3 separate regions of the Homo sapiens genome follow, and all the other regions are linked to region 1. The links are contacts of gene promoters, found by promoter capture Hi-C in human tissues and cell types (Jung and others, 2019). All regions are on one chromosome and are shown on one strand. The core of a region is centred on a gene start or on the middle of the fragment in contact, and the rest is flanking DNA. Distances in the headings are between cores, read along the strand shown.

Region 1 (4,492 bases), core at 964-3,463:
CTTCAGCCAAGGGTCTGTGGTCAAGGCTGCCAGGCTTGGGATGGAGCAGGCAGAGGGAGATAGAGGGAGGGAGGCTGAGGAGGGCAGTGGCTTGTAGGCAGAGGACACAACTTTTATTTATCCCTTCCCTGCCACTGGCCAGACACCTAGCATGTGCTCAGGAACCTCTTGCTGCCTGGCTGCACACAGCTGCAGCTGCCAGTGAGCCTCTAGTTTCTGGGTGGTCTTTTTGGAAAACGGGTGTAAGAGGACTCAGCCCCACTGCCCCTGGCTGGTGTGATATCAGGCAGGTTCCTTAACTTCTCCGAGCCCATCCTTTTCAACTGAGGAGCAAGTTCAGCTGAGCAGGAGGGTCCTCCCTACTGGGGGAGGCAGTGAGCCCTAGGAGTCCATGGTAGCAGGAAGCATGGATGACAGGCTATTTTTGGTTAGAAATTGAGTGTGGATGCTTCCAGAGTGGTGACCACAGACTTGTCCTTCAAGACCTCGCTCAAGGGCCTCCCCGGTCCACCAGACCTCCCAGGCTGAGGACTCTTCCTCCAGGGACATAGCCCTGAGCTGACGCCTCCTCCACCCTTTATCTCCCACTGGTCTGGGTTGCCATGACTTATCTCCTGCCGGGGCTTGTGAAGACTTGGAGGGCAAGGGCCCTGTGCTGGGTTCCTTTTGTGTCATTTTCTCCTCCTTCTCTAAATAGTGAACAAAATAAGGGCCAGGAAGACAACAGTTGCTCAAGACCAACTGATGAGGGATTCAAGCCAGCAAACACATGTGGACATCTGCTTTGGGTGGGCCAGACCCTGAGCTGGGCTGGGGGTGGGGTAGGGGAACATAGCTCCAAGAAAGAGAGAATCCCTGCCCTCTGGAAGCCGTGGCCATGGAAACAACTGCCCTGCTGAGTGATGGCTATGGGACGCCTGGGCTGAATGATTCTAGAAAGTTGGAAGGGATGCTATGGAGAACTGCCTAGGTTGTTCACTGCACAAAGTGCTGGCCAAGGGAGCAAGCAAGGCATAGAATCCAGCCTCGCCTCCACTCTCCAGATTCCATACCTTGCTGTGCGCTGTGCCCAGCGGGGAAAGAGCATTGTCTATTTGTGCCCTGGACGTGGAGGTCTTAGAGAATACGTCCCCCATCCTCCATCCTCCACCAACGTGGAGCCCCAGGAGGGCAGAACCTATGTCTGTACAGTTTCCTGCTGGGTCCCCAGCCCCTTGCATGCCCCATAGTCTATGCTCAGATGGAGTGGCTGAATGTATGAATGAGTAGAATGAATGAATAAAATGTATCCTCAAACGAAGATCTGACTAACTTGAGCCTGCGGCCTGAGTCAGTGGGCCTGGAGGGGTAGCACTGGGACCTCTGGTAGCACCTAGAAGGGGAAGTACCTCCCACCACGCTCCCAGTCCTCCCCTAGACAGGGAAGGTGGGAGCCATGGTACCTGGCGGGAGAGAAGACGGGTTCTGCTCTTACTGGTCCAGTCCCAGGCTGAAGTTGAGACGAATGATCAGGACTCAGAATGGGTGGGACAGAGGAACTGAGGGACAGGTAGACCAGTCGTCTGGGATTCAGGGAAGGTTTCACGGAGGATGTGGGACCAGACAGGTGTGTGTATGTGTGTGTGTCGGTGGGGGTGGGGTGGGGAATACTATCCAGAGGGCAGATGGTGAGTAAAGGCAGGGATGGGCAGAGCGTGTTAAGTGGCAGGAGGCTGAGTGAGGAGAGTTGGACCAGAAGTGGAAACTCCTTCGGGATAAAACTCAGAGAGTAGGACTCAGAAAACTTGTTTCGGGTTTGTCCCCTCCCCTTCCCAGCAGGCAGGATGTTGCACAGGGACAGGCACTAAGCAGACAGCCTAGGGAAGGAGGGCCGGGTGAGGAGGGGGGAGGGTGTCTGCTGGCCTTAAGTGACAATCTGTGTGAGAATCGAAGAGCTGAGAGCTCGGGAGCCATTGTAGGTTCTTGAGCAGGGGTGGCCCAAAGTGGGTGGTGCGGAGGGCGACTGGAGAGGAGGAGTCAGCTGGGGAGTCTGAGCGCGGCGCGGCCCGCGGGATGTTGGGGGCCGGGTTCCCTCCGAGCGCCGTGGTCTCCCTGTCCCGGCGCGGCGGGCCGGGTGGGGCCAGGCCTTGGGAGCGCGCGCCGGATCCCAGCGCCGGGCCGGCGGAGGGGCGGGGCCGGGCACGTGTCCTCGGGCCGCTCCCCCCTCCGCCACGTGACCCGCCCAGGGCAGGGTCGGGGCTGGGCTGGGGGCCGCGAGCCCAGGCGTCTGAGACCTACTGACCGGCCGCGGGCAGGGCTGACAGGCGGTGGGGCGGCTCGGCCCCTGGCGGAGTCGGCGGCGGGCGGGGACGCGGCGCTGGGAGGACGCGGCGGCGCTGGGAACGGACGCCTGGGCGCCCCGAGGCGCCGGGATGTGGAGCGGGTAGGTCCGCGCGCGCTCGCGGTCCCGCGCTGGGTCTGGGCCGCGGTCGCCTCCCGGGACGGGAGGATTTCGGGGGTCCCCGCCGGGTCTGCGCCGCCACCCGGAGGTGCTGTGCGCCCCCGCCCTGCCTGCAGGCGAGCCGACTTGCAGCCAGGAGACTCCGGGGGAGGGGTCGGGGGTGTCTCTCGGGGTGCAGGGTGCGAAGGGTGGGCAGCCGACCGTCCCGGGGTGACAGCGTCAACTCCTCTTAGCTCATCAGGAGCGCAAGTGAGAAGAGTTGGGGTGTGGGGAAGAGTGTGCACGACTCTGGGGCATGCACCTAGAGGAAGGACCCCCAGCCCACCCTCCCAACCTGTCCCTCAACCCCTTCGCTGGATGAACTCTTGGAAAGCAGTGTAGCTGGGAAAGAGGGGCTGGGTCTTTGCCAGGGTGGCTCCCAAGTTGAGGGCAGAACCTCCTTGTGGGGCTCTGGAAGTACGGAGGCTCTCAGAGGTGTGGAGTGGGAACCCCCCCCGCCCCGGCCCCGCAGCCTGGAGTGGGGTAGCAGAGACTCTGGGTCCTGGATTAGTGGCCCCAGTGGCTGTGTCTGTTCAGGCCACTGGTTCTCAGGGGCAGTTGCAGTTCCTGGCCCATCTGATGTGGGACCCCTGCCCTGTATGTGCAGAAAGGTTGTGGTGTTTTTGTGGAGTTGGGCAAACACTTCCTCTTCCCCGTGGCCGGGAAAGACCAGGTCGTGGAGGAAATGTGGCCAGAATGGGGGACAGGTTGTACTCCTGTGCCCCCTGGGCCAGATGAGTGGTCCCAGGAGAGGGCTACTGCCCAGCTACAGCTGGGGAGTGAGGGAAGCCCCCCGGAAAGGCAGGCAGGATCCACTTCACTCCATGGCACCTAGCAAAGGTTGAGCTGCGATGCTAGGGGAGGGATGGCCTTTCATCCCCAGCAGGGGGTGTGGAGAGAGTGGGCTCCTGTTAGGGGTGAGGTGTGGAGAGGCTTGGGACTTTTTTTTTTTTTGAGACGGAGTCTTGCTCTGTCACCCAGGCTGGAGTGCAGTGGCGAGATCTCAGCTCACTGCAACCTCCGCTGCCTGAGTACAAGCAATTCGCCTGACTCAGCCTCCTGAGTAGCTGCGACTACAGGCACACACCACCACACCCGGCTAATTTTTGTATTTTTAGTAGAGACGGGGTTTCACAATATTGATCAGGCTGGTCTCGAACTCCTGACCTCAGGTGATCCACCAGCCTCAGCCTCCCAAAGTGCTAGGATTACAGGCTTTTACCACCACGCCCTGCCCTAAGACTTGAGACTCTTTTTTTTTTTTTTTTGAGACAGAGTGTCACTCTGTCGCCCAGGCTGGAGTGCAGTGGCGCGGCTCAGTGCAAGCTCCACCTCCCAGGTTCACACCAGTCTCCTGCCTTAGCTTCCCGAGTAGCTGGGACTACAGGCGCCCGCCACCACGCCCAGCTAATTTTTTTGTGTTTTTAGTAGAGACAGGGTTTCACCATGTTAGCAAGGATGGTCTCGATCTCCTGACCTTGTGATCCGCCCGCCTCAGCCTCCCAAAGTGCTGGGATTACAGGTGTGAGCCACTGCACCCGGCCTGGGCTTGAGACTCTTAAAGGGAGAGAGTTGAAGGCCACTAGTGTATTTGTTGGCATTGTGCTTGGAGGAAGGAGGCTGGCTTAGGAGAAAGTGCTTGAGGTGGGTTTGTGGTACCTGGAGAGGTTAGGGCAGTCCTGCCCGGGGTGAATTGTGTTTGGGGAGCAGCCTCGTCTGCCGGAAGCCTGTGTCTTGTGCCGGCTGGGTGGACTCAGGCAACACAGCCCCTGAGTTAGTTGCTGTGTGACCTTGAGAGTGTGGACTTCCTTCTCTGGGCCTCTAGGTAAAATAAATGGTTTCTGGGGTGGGAGTGATCGCAGGTCAGAGAATGTCCTTCCCTGGAGGCACCCAGGCCAAGGCCAGACACAGCTGAGAGCCACCAGTAGATGGATGGTTGCTTCAAGGAGAGTCAGAGAGCCTTATATCCTGGGCAGGGACCCCTCCCCACCATCCAGCCCCCCTGCCATATTC
Region 2 (4,492 bases), core at 858-3,357, 160 kb before region 1:
GTGAAACCCCGCTCTACTAAAAATACAAAAATTAGCCAGGCATGGTGGCACGGGCCTGTAGTCCCAGCTATTCAGGAGGCTGAGGCAGGAGAATCACTTTAACCCGGGAGGCGGAGGTTGCAGTGAGCTGAGATCACACCATTGCACTCCAGCCTGGGTGACAGAGCAAGACTCCATCTCAAATAAATAAATAAATAAATAAATAAATAAATAAATAAGCCACAGGCTGTGGTGGTGTGCAGCTGCAGTCCCAATTACTCAGGAGACTGAGGCAAAAGGATTGCTTGAGCCTGGGGATAGAGGCTGCAGTGAGCCATGTTGGCACCACTGCAAACTAGCCTGTGTGACAAAGCAAGAAAGTGAGACCCTGTCTCAAAAAGTAAAAAAGAAAAGTGCACTTTACCAGTATCATCTTCTTGGGCTATTTTTCCCAGCACCTTCTGACTGGCTCCCAAATGGCCAGGTTGCTGTCATCCTGGGATCTCCCTGCACCAGCACCCTGAGGATTTCCTTTTCTTCTCTCCTGTGTTGAGCCCTAGATTCCTGGGTCTCATGGCTTTCTCTTTCCTGGTTTACTCCTTCATTTTTATAGAACGCATCCTCAAGACTTCTGGAGGTGGATGCTCGGTAGTGAAAATTTTTGAAAACTTTCCATGTCTTTTAGTGGCTTTTGTTCTGCTTCTGCTTGATTGATGATCTGGTTAGGAATTGAATTCCAGGTAGGAAATCATTTTCCCATAAATCTTTTCAAGGCATTGCTCCATTGTCCTCCAGCTTTTCAGGCACTTTATAAGAACACAAATATAGGCCGGGCACGGTGGCTTACACCTGTAATCCCAGCACTTTGGGAGGCCAAGGCAGGCAGATCACCTGAGGTCAGGACTTTGAGACCAGCCTGGCAAACATGGTGAAACTCTATCTCTACTAATAATACAAAAATTAGCTGGGTATGGTGGCACATGCCTGTAATCCCAGCTACTCGGGAGGCTGAGGCAGGAGAATCACTTAAACCCCAGGAGGTGGTGGTTGCAGTGAGCCGAGATCACACCATTGCACTCCAGCCTGGGCAACAAGAGCAAAACTCTGTCTCAAAGAAAAAAAAAAAAGAACAGAAATATAACTCCCTTCTTTCCAAAGGATGCTATTTTGGTGGGGGGAAGCCCTCACCTTATATTCAAATAAATGCAAATTAAGAACACAGTGACATACCACTTTTCACCCACCAAAATGGCTAAAAGTAAACGAACTGATAATGCCAAGTGTTGCCAAGGATGTGGAACAACTGGGACATTCATATGCTGCTGATGGGAATGAAAAATGACACAACTATTTTGGAAAACATTTTGGCAGTTTCTTATAAAGTTCACATATACTTACTTCATGATCCAGCAATTTCACCTGTAGGTGTTTACCCAAGAGAAAATATGTATACTCATAAAGATTTGTCTGAAGAAGTTCTTGGCAGCTTTATTTATAATAACCCCCAAACTAGAAAGGACCCAAATATCCATCAACAGGAGAATGAATAAAGGAATTGTGGCATATCCATAGAATGGAATACCATTTGCTATGATCTAAATGTTTCTGTCCCGCAAAACTCATATGTTGAAATCTAACTATCCCTTATCTGGAATGCTTAGAAACAGAAGCATTTTGGATTTGGAATATTTGCATAATATTTACTGGCATCCCAAATCCAAAAAGCAGAAATCTGAAATGCTCCAATGACCATTTCCTTTGAGGGTCACATTGGTACTCAAAAAGCTTTTCAAAGCCCAGCGTGGTGGCTCACGCCTGTAATCCCAGCACTTTGGGAGGCCAAGGCAGGCGGATCACCTGAGGTCAGGAGTTCAAAATCAGCCTGGCCAACATGGTGAAACCCTGTCTCTACTAAAAATACAAAAATTAGTCGGGCGTGGTGGTGGTTGCCTGTAATCCTAGCTACTGGGGAGGCTGAGGCAGGAGAATCGCTTGAACCCAGGAGGAAGAGGCTGCAGTAACCTGAGATTGTGCCAGCCTGGGTGACAGTGAGACTCCGTCTAAAAAAAAAAAAACACATTTTGAATGATGGTGCTCAGCCTGTGTTAAGAGGTGGGGCCTGGCTGGGTGCGGTGGCTCACGCCTGTAATCCCAGCACTTTGGGAAGCCGAGGCAGGTGGATCACCTGAGGTCAGGGGTTCAAAACCAGCCTGGCCAACATGGTGAAACCCCATCTCTACTAAAAATACAAAATTAGCTGGGCGTGGTAGATGCCTGTAATCCCAGCTACTTGGGAGGTTCAGGCAGGAGAATCGTTTGAACCTGGGAGGCAAAGATTGCAGTGAGCCGAGATCACGCCATTGCACTCCAGCCTGGGCAACAACAGCAAAACTCCATCTCAAGAAAAAAAAGAAAAATACAAAATTGGCCTGGCATGGTGGTGCATGCCTGTAATCCCAGCTACTTGGGAGGCTGAGGCAGGAGAATCGCTTGAACCCAGGAGGTGGAGGTTGCAGTGAGCCGAGATGGCGCCATTGCACTCTAGCCTGAGCAACAAGAGCGAAATTCCATCTCAAAAAAATAAATAAATAAAAGAGATGGGGCCTTTAGGAAGTGATATGTTCATGAGGGTAAAGCCTCATGAAAGAATCAGGGCCCTTATAAAAGAGGACTGAGTGAGCCGTGATCCCGCCACTACACTCCAGTGTGGCCAACACAGGGAAACCCTATCTTTTTTTAAAAACTTTATTTTCAATTATCATTCTAGCATATTTTTTCTTTTTTTATTTTCAGTTGCCATTCTAGCACAGAGATCCTGTCTCAAAAAAAAAAAAAAAAGAGGCCTGAGAGAACGTGTTTATGTCTTTTCCCATGTGAAGACACAGCTAGAAAGCACCATCCTTGAAACTGAGAGCAAGCCCTCATCAGTCAGTGAATCTGCTGATGCCATGTTCTTGGAATTCCCAGCTTCCAGAACTGTGAGCAATAAATGTACATAGATTGCAAATTACCCAGTCTAAGGTATTTTGTTACAACAGCCCAAAAATACTAAGACAATATTCACCAATCAAAAGCAATTAAGTACTGACAGACGTAACAACATGGTAAATCTCAACGCATTATACCAAGCAAAAGAGGCTGGACACAATAGAGTGATTTCCTTCATCTAAAATAGGGAAAGGGCCGGGCGTGGTGGCTCGCCCCTGTAATCCTAGCACTTTGGGAGGTTGAGGCGGGTGGATCACCTGAGGTCAGGAGTTCGAGACCAGCCTGAACAACATGGTGAAACCCCATCTCTACTAAAAACATAAAAATGAGGCATACCTGGTGGCGGGCACCTGTAATCCCAGCTACTCAGGAAGCTGAGGCAGGAGAATCCCTAGAACCCGGGAGGCAGAGGTTGCAGTGAGCAGAGATCATGCCATTGCACTCCAGCCTGGGGAACAGAGCGAGACTCCCTCTCAAAAAAATAAATAAATAAAATAAAATAGGGAAAGGAAAATAGAAAAGGACAAACAACTTAATACAACAAAAAAGCAGGTCAGTGGTTTCCCAGTCCTGGGACCAAGGTGGGAGTGGTATGGATCATAAAGGGACGTGAGGAAAGTTCTGGGGTGGTGGAAATGTTCTATGTCCTGTTGTGTTGGTGGATACGTGGGTATAAATGTTTGTCACAACCCATCAAAGTGCTCACGTAAATATGAGTGTAGGCTGGGCGTGGTGGCTCACGCCTGTAATCCCAGCATTTTGGGAGGCCGAGGCAGGCAGATCACCTGAGGTTGGGAGTTAGAGACCACCCTGACCAACATGGAGAAATCCCCGTCTCCACTAAAAATACAAAATTAGCCGGGTGTGGTGGCGCATGCCTGTAATCCCAGCTACTTGGGAGACTGAGGCAGGAGAACACTTGAACTCGGAAGGTGGAGGTTGTGGTGAGCTGAGATCGCGCCATTGCACTCCAGCCTGGGCAACAAGAGTGAAACTCTGTCTCAAAAAAAAAAAAGTGTATTTTATTGTGTGTAAATTGCACTTCAATAAAGTTAATATTTTTATTTTTATTTACTTTATTATTATTATTTTGTTTTCAGACCGAGTTTCGCTCTTGTTACCCAGGCTGGAGTGCAATGGCGCAGTCTTGGCTCACTGCAACCTTCGCCTCCCAGGTTCAAGTGATTATCCTGCCTCAGCCTCCCAAGTAGCTGGGACTACAGGCGCCCGCCACCACGCCTGGCTAACTTTTGTATTTATAGTAGAGATGGGGTTTCACCATGTTGCCCAGGCTGGTCTCGAACTCCTGACCTCAGGTGATCTGCTCTCCTTGGCCTCCCAAAGTGCTGGCATTACAGGCGTGAGCCACCACGTCCAACCAAGTTAATATTTTTTAAATGAAGCACTAGTAAGAGGACTGCGATTCCATCCAAGGTCAGGGATTGTAGCAGCAGACTTCGCTTTAGGGAGACAGTGTGGGAAACCAGCAGTTTTGATTATCTCTTTTTAGGGCTTTCCATTTCAC
Region 3 (4,492 bases), core at 1,136-3,635, 140 kb before region 1:
GTATGAAGAGCTTCCAGACAGCTGAACACAGAAAGGTTCTTGGAGTGTGATTTGCCTGGGGAGGGCGTGGAAGCTCCATTCTCCTCCCCCATACCTTTTTGTTTGTTTGTTTGTTTTGAGATGGAGTCTTGCTTTGTTGCCCAGGCTGGAGTACAGTGGCACCATCTCGGCTCACTGCAACCTCCACCTCCCAGGTTCAAGCGATTCTCCTGCCTCAGCCTCCCGAGTAGCCGGGACTCCAGGCGTGTGCCACCATGCCCAGCTAATTTTTAAATTTTTTTAGTAGAGATGGGGTTTCACCATGTTGGCCAGGCTGGTCTCAAACTCCTGACCTTGTGCTCTGCCCACCTCAACCTCCCAAGGTGCTGGGATTACAGGTGTGAGCCACCACACTCAGCACCCCCATATCTCTTTTTATGCACCTCTTCATCTGTATCCTTCGTCATATCTTCTATAATAAACTGGTAAACATCAGTATTTCCCTGAATCCTGTAAGTTGCTCTAGCAAATTAATTGAGCCTAAAGAGGGGGCCGTGGGAACCCTTGAAGCTGGTCAGTCAACAGTTCTTTTTTTCACAGTTTTGGAGGCTGGGAAGTCCAAGATCAAGGTGCCTGCAGATTTGGTATCTGGGGAGGGCCTGCTTTCTGGTTCACAGACGGCATCTTCTAGAGTGAGGGGTCTCTTTAGGGCCTCGAAGGATACTCATCCCATGCATGAGAGCTCTGCTGTCATGACTTAATCACTTCCCAACGGCCCTGCCTCCTAATACCATCATCTTGGGGTTAGGTCTCAGCATATAAATTTTGGGGAGATACAAACATTTAGACCATAGCACCTTCCCTTTCCTTCATATTAAGATACAAAGTCCATTTGCTAGGCATTAACACCAGAGGAACTGCACCTTACACATGGATCAGCAAGGACTGAGAGATGATTACAGGACCCCTGCAACCATCATGACCTGTGATGGTTGCCGGGCATGGTGATTCATGCCTGTAATCCCAGCACTTTGGGAGGCCAAGACGGGTAGATCACCTGAGGTCAGGAGTTCAAGACCAGCATGACCAACATGGTGAAACCCAGTCTTCTCTAAAAAATACAAAATTAGCTGGGCATGGTGGTACATGCCTGTAATCCCAGCTACTTAATTCTTTCAATAAGTCAGTCAAGATGAGGTTGTTAATTGACTGGAGCCAGAAATGTCTAAGCCTTCCCCTAGGAAGAGGGAGGGAGGGCAAGGTGCTTAGTTCATACCAAGAAAGCAATGGATGACATCATCTTAAAACATGGCCTGCTTCTCCTGGGACTGTTTTGAGGTTCAAATATGATGACAAAATTCTTCAAATCCCTTTGACAGTGAAAGCCTGGGCCCAGGGCTAGTGGTGTTTTTGTGTATTTCATTGGTACAAACAGAAGTAGAGGAAATAGCTCATTCTCACACCCTGTTGGAGGCATTGCTGGGACTAGAACCTGGGCCCTGAGCCCCAGCCTGGGGTAAAGTATGTCTGGCTATGCGCCTAATTGCATCACGCATCTTGAGATGCAACTGGTGTCTAAAGCGAGGGGGGCAGTCCTGAGGCACTGAGCTCTAAACCTGGGAGATCTGATGCTATTTCTGGGTAGGTGGTGTCAGAATTAAACTGGAGGACGCTCAGCTGGTGTCCATGGCAAAATTGATTGATTGCTTGGCATGTGGGGAAAAAAACCCACACATTTGGTCACAGAAGTCTTCTGTCTTTATTGTGTAGTGTGAGAGCAGAGGAAAATCAGTTGGTTTTTTTTTCCACTCACAAAGTGGCTCTGGACAAATCAGACTGTGCTCTGGCCTTGGGGACATCCAATGAAGAGGGAATCAGTATGTGAGGAGTTAGGAAAACCAGCCACATTAGAGAACAGTGGACGCTTGTCTTTTCGGAATGCCACAGCTGTTTTTCTTTCTTTTTTGACTGTGGGTTTTTCCATTTTATCTTTCCTGCACAGGCTTCTCTGGGGATCTTTGTGCTCCTTTGCAACAAGGTTCTTGCCTTGTTGGAGAGCAGGGACTCTATAAATGTTCCGCGGGACTTAGGATCCCTCCCCAGAGAAGGCAGTGGGAGGCCTCCTTGCTCCTACCTCTGCCTGTTTTCAGGATGAGCGTAGACACAGACTGACTTTTCTGCAGCAGAACGGCGGAGGCCAAGTGGCTAAGTGGACGCCACCATAGGGGGAGGCCAGTGGGAGGCCTCTCTAGTTTCCATTTCTCGCCTCTTTTTTTAAAATGCATTTTCCCTCTTCTCTTTCCAAATGCAGAAAGGAGTAAATGTGAAGCAAGCAGTGCAGATAAAGAGAGAAAAATAGCAAAGAGAGATAGGAAGGTGGCGCTCGTGGGATAAAAATGTAAAGCTTACCTGCTCATCAGGTAAAAAGTGCATACATGAAATTTTGGAGAGAAGTTTTATCCAACTCATGCAAGGAAGATCTGTTCAGCAAGCAAATTGGGGCTGCTAAGGCCTTCTAGAGAGTTAATAAGACCAGGTGCAGTGGCTCACACCTGTAATCCCAGCACTTTGGGAGGTCAAGGCAGGCGGATCACCTGAGGTCAGGAGTTCAAGACCAGCCTGGCAAACATACGAAAACCCCCCTCTCTACTGAAAATACAAAAATTAGCCAGGCGTGGTGTCTTATGCCTGTAATCCCAGCACTTTGGGAGGCCAAGGCAGGAGGATCGCTTGAGCCCAGGAGTTCAAGGTTACAGTGAGCTATGATTGCCCCACTGCTCTCCAGCCTGAGCAACAGAGAGACCCTGTCTCAAAAAAAAAAAAAAAAAAAAAGGAGCCGAGTGTGGTGGTGCATGCCTGTAATCCCAGGTACTTGGGAGACTGAGGCACAAGAATCACTTGAACCCGGGAGGCGAAGGTTGCAGTGAGCCAAGATTGCACCACTGCACTCCAGCCTTGGAGACACAGTGAGACTCCATCTCAAATAAAGAGAGATGGCTGGGCGCGGTGGCTCACACCTGTAATCTCAGCACTTTGGGAGGCTGAGGTGGGCGGATCACCTGAGGTTGGGAGTTTACGACCAGGCTGACCAACATGGAGAAACCCCGTCTCTACTAAAAATACAAAATTAGCCAGGCGTGGTGGCGCACACCTGTAATCCCAGCTACTTGGGAGGCTGAGGCAGGAGGAATTGCTTGAACACGGGAGGCGGAGGTTGTGGTGAGTGGAGATCGTGTCATTGCACTCCAGCCTGGGCAACAATAGTGAAACTCTGTCTCAAAAAAAAAAAAAAGTTAAGACTGAGGTTGGACCCCTTCTTTAGGGATAGATTTCCTTAAACTCCAGCTATGGGGATGGTAAGTAGCCACTGAAGATGAAGGACTTGAAAAAGAAAGGTTTCCACCTGTCCCAGAAGGTATAATCTCAGAAGTAAAAAGGAAATATGTACACTTGGAGACACACACACACACACACACACACATACACTCAGTCACTTTGCTTTAGAATAACTCTGTCCAGGCCTTGACTTAGGTTAGGTTCTAAACGGGTCAGAATTGTGACAAAGGCAGGATGGGAGAGCAGAAAGAGAGGTGGCCTTTGTGTGGCAGCACTGGGACTAGACCCAAGGGATATTTTTCTCTTCTTTTCAAGATGGCGTTTCGCTCTTGTTGCACAGGCTAGAGTGCAATGGCACAATCTCGGCTTACTGCAACCTCTGCCTCCCAGGTTCAAGCAATTCTCCTGCCTCAGCCTCCTGAGTAGCTGGGATTGCAGGCACCCACCACCATACCTGGTTAATTTTTGTATTTTTAGTAGAGACTGGGTTTCACCACGTTGGCCAGGCTGGTCTCGATCTCCTGACCTCAAGCGATCCACCCACCTTGGCCTCCCAAAGTGCTGGGATTACAGGCGTGAGCCACAACGCCCGGCCCTTTCTTTTCTTTTTTTAAAAGACACAGTCTTGTTCTGTCACCCAGGCTGGATTGCAGTGGTGCCATCATGGCTCACTGCAGCCTCAACCTCCTGGGCTCAAGCAATCCTCCTGACTCGGTATCCCGAGTAGCTGGGACTACAGGCACGCACCACCACACTCGGCTAATTTTTAAATTTTTTTTGTAGAGACGGGGTCTTGCCATGTTGCCCAGGCTGGTCTCAAATTCATGAGCTCAAGCAATCCTCCCACCTTGGCCTCTCGAAGTGCTGGGATTACAGGCAAGGACCACTATGCCCAGCTCTGCCCCCAGGGTACATTTTAAAGAACTGTTTTATTGTCAAATAAAAGCCACAGTACAGGTCGGGCACGGTGGCTCACGCCTGTAATTCTAGCACTTTGGGAGGCTGAGGGGGGCGGATCACTTGAGGTCAGGAGTTCAAGACCAGTTTGGCCAACATGGTGAAACCCCATCTCTACTAAAAATACGAAAAAAAAAAAAATTAGGAGTAGTGGTGCACACCTGTAGTCCCAGTTACTTGGGAGGCTGAGGCACGAAAATCGCTTGAATCCAGGAGGCGG

Evidence for each region. The method cuts DNA at HindIII sites, captures the fragments that hold promoters and counts their contacts. A contact is called where the count stands out against the background at its distance.
Region 2: a fragment that was not itself captured here is called in contact with the fragment with the promoter of RAB3IL1 in region 1 in 1 of the 25 tissues and cell types used here (spleen).
Region 3: a fragment that was not itself captured here is called in contact with the fragment with the promoter of RAB3IL1 in region 1 in 3 of the 25 tissues and cell types used here (H1 embryonic stem cells, aorta and stomach).

The regions. Positions count from the first base shown.
Region 1 is chr11:61,915,287-61,919,778 of GRCh38, reverse strand. It overlaps RAB3IL1 (RAB3A interacting protein like 1), which reads left to right and starts at 2,213. Exons shown (of 10, transcript NM_013401.4): 1 at 2,213-2,422. The coding sequence starts at 2,412. The HindIII fragment of the contact is 7,999 bases long and covers 1-3,570 here.
Region 2 is chr11:62,075,774-62,080,265 of GRCh38, reverse strand. All of the region lies in intron 1 of LINC02733 (long intergenic non-protein coding RNA 2733), which reads left to right. Among named protein-coding and RNA genes, the nearest start is that of LINC02733, 4.3 kb to the left of the region's middle. The HindIII fragment of the contact is 3,887 bases long and covers 164-4,050 here.
Region 3 is chr11:62,059,420-62,063,911 of GRCh38, reverse strand. All of the region lies in intron 1 of LINC02733 (long intergenic non-protein coding RNA 2733), which reads left to right. Among named protein-coding and RNA genes, the nearest start is that of LINC02733, 21 kb to the left of the region's middle. The HindIII fragment of the contact is 8,729 bases long and covers 1-4,492 here.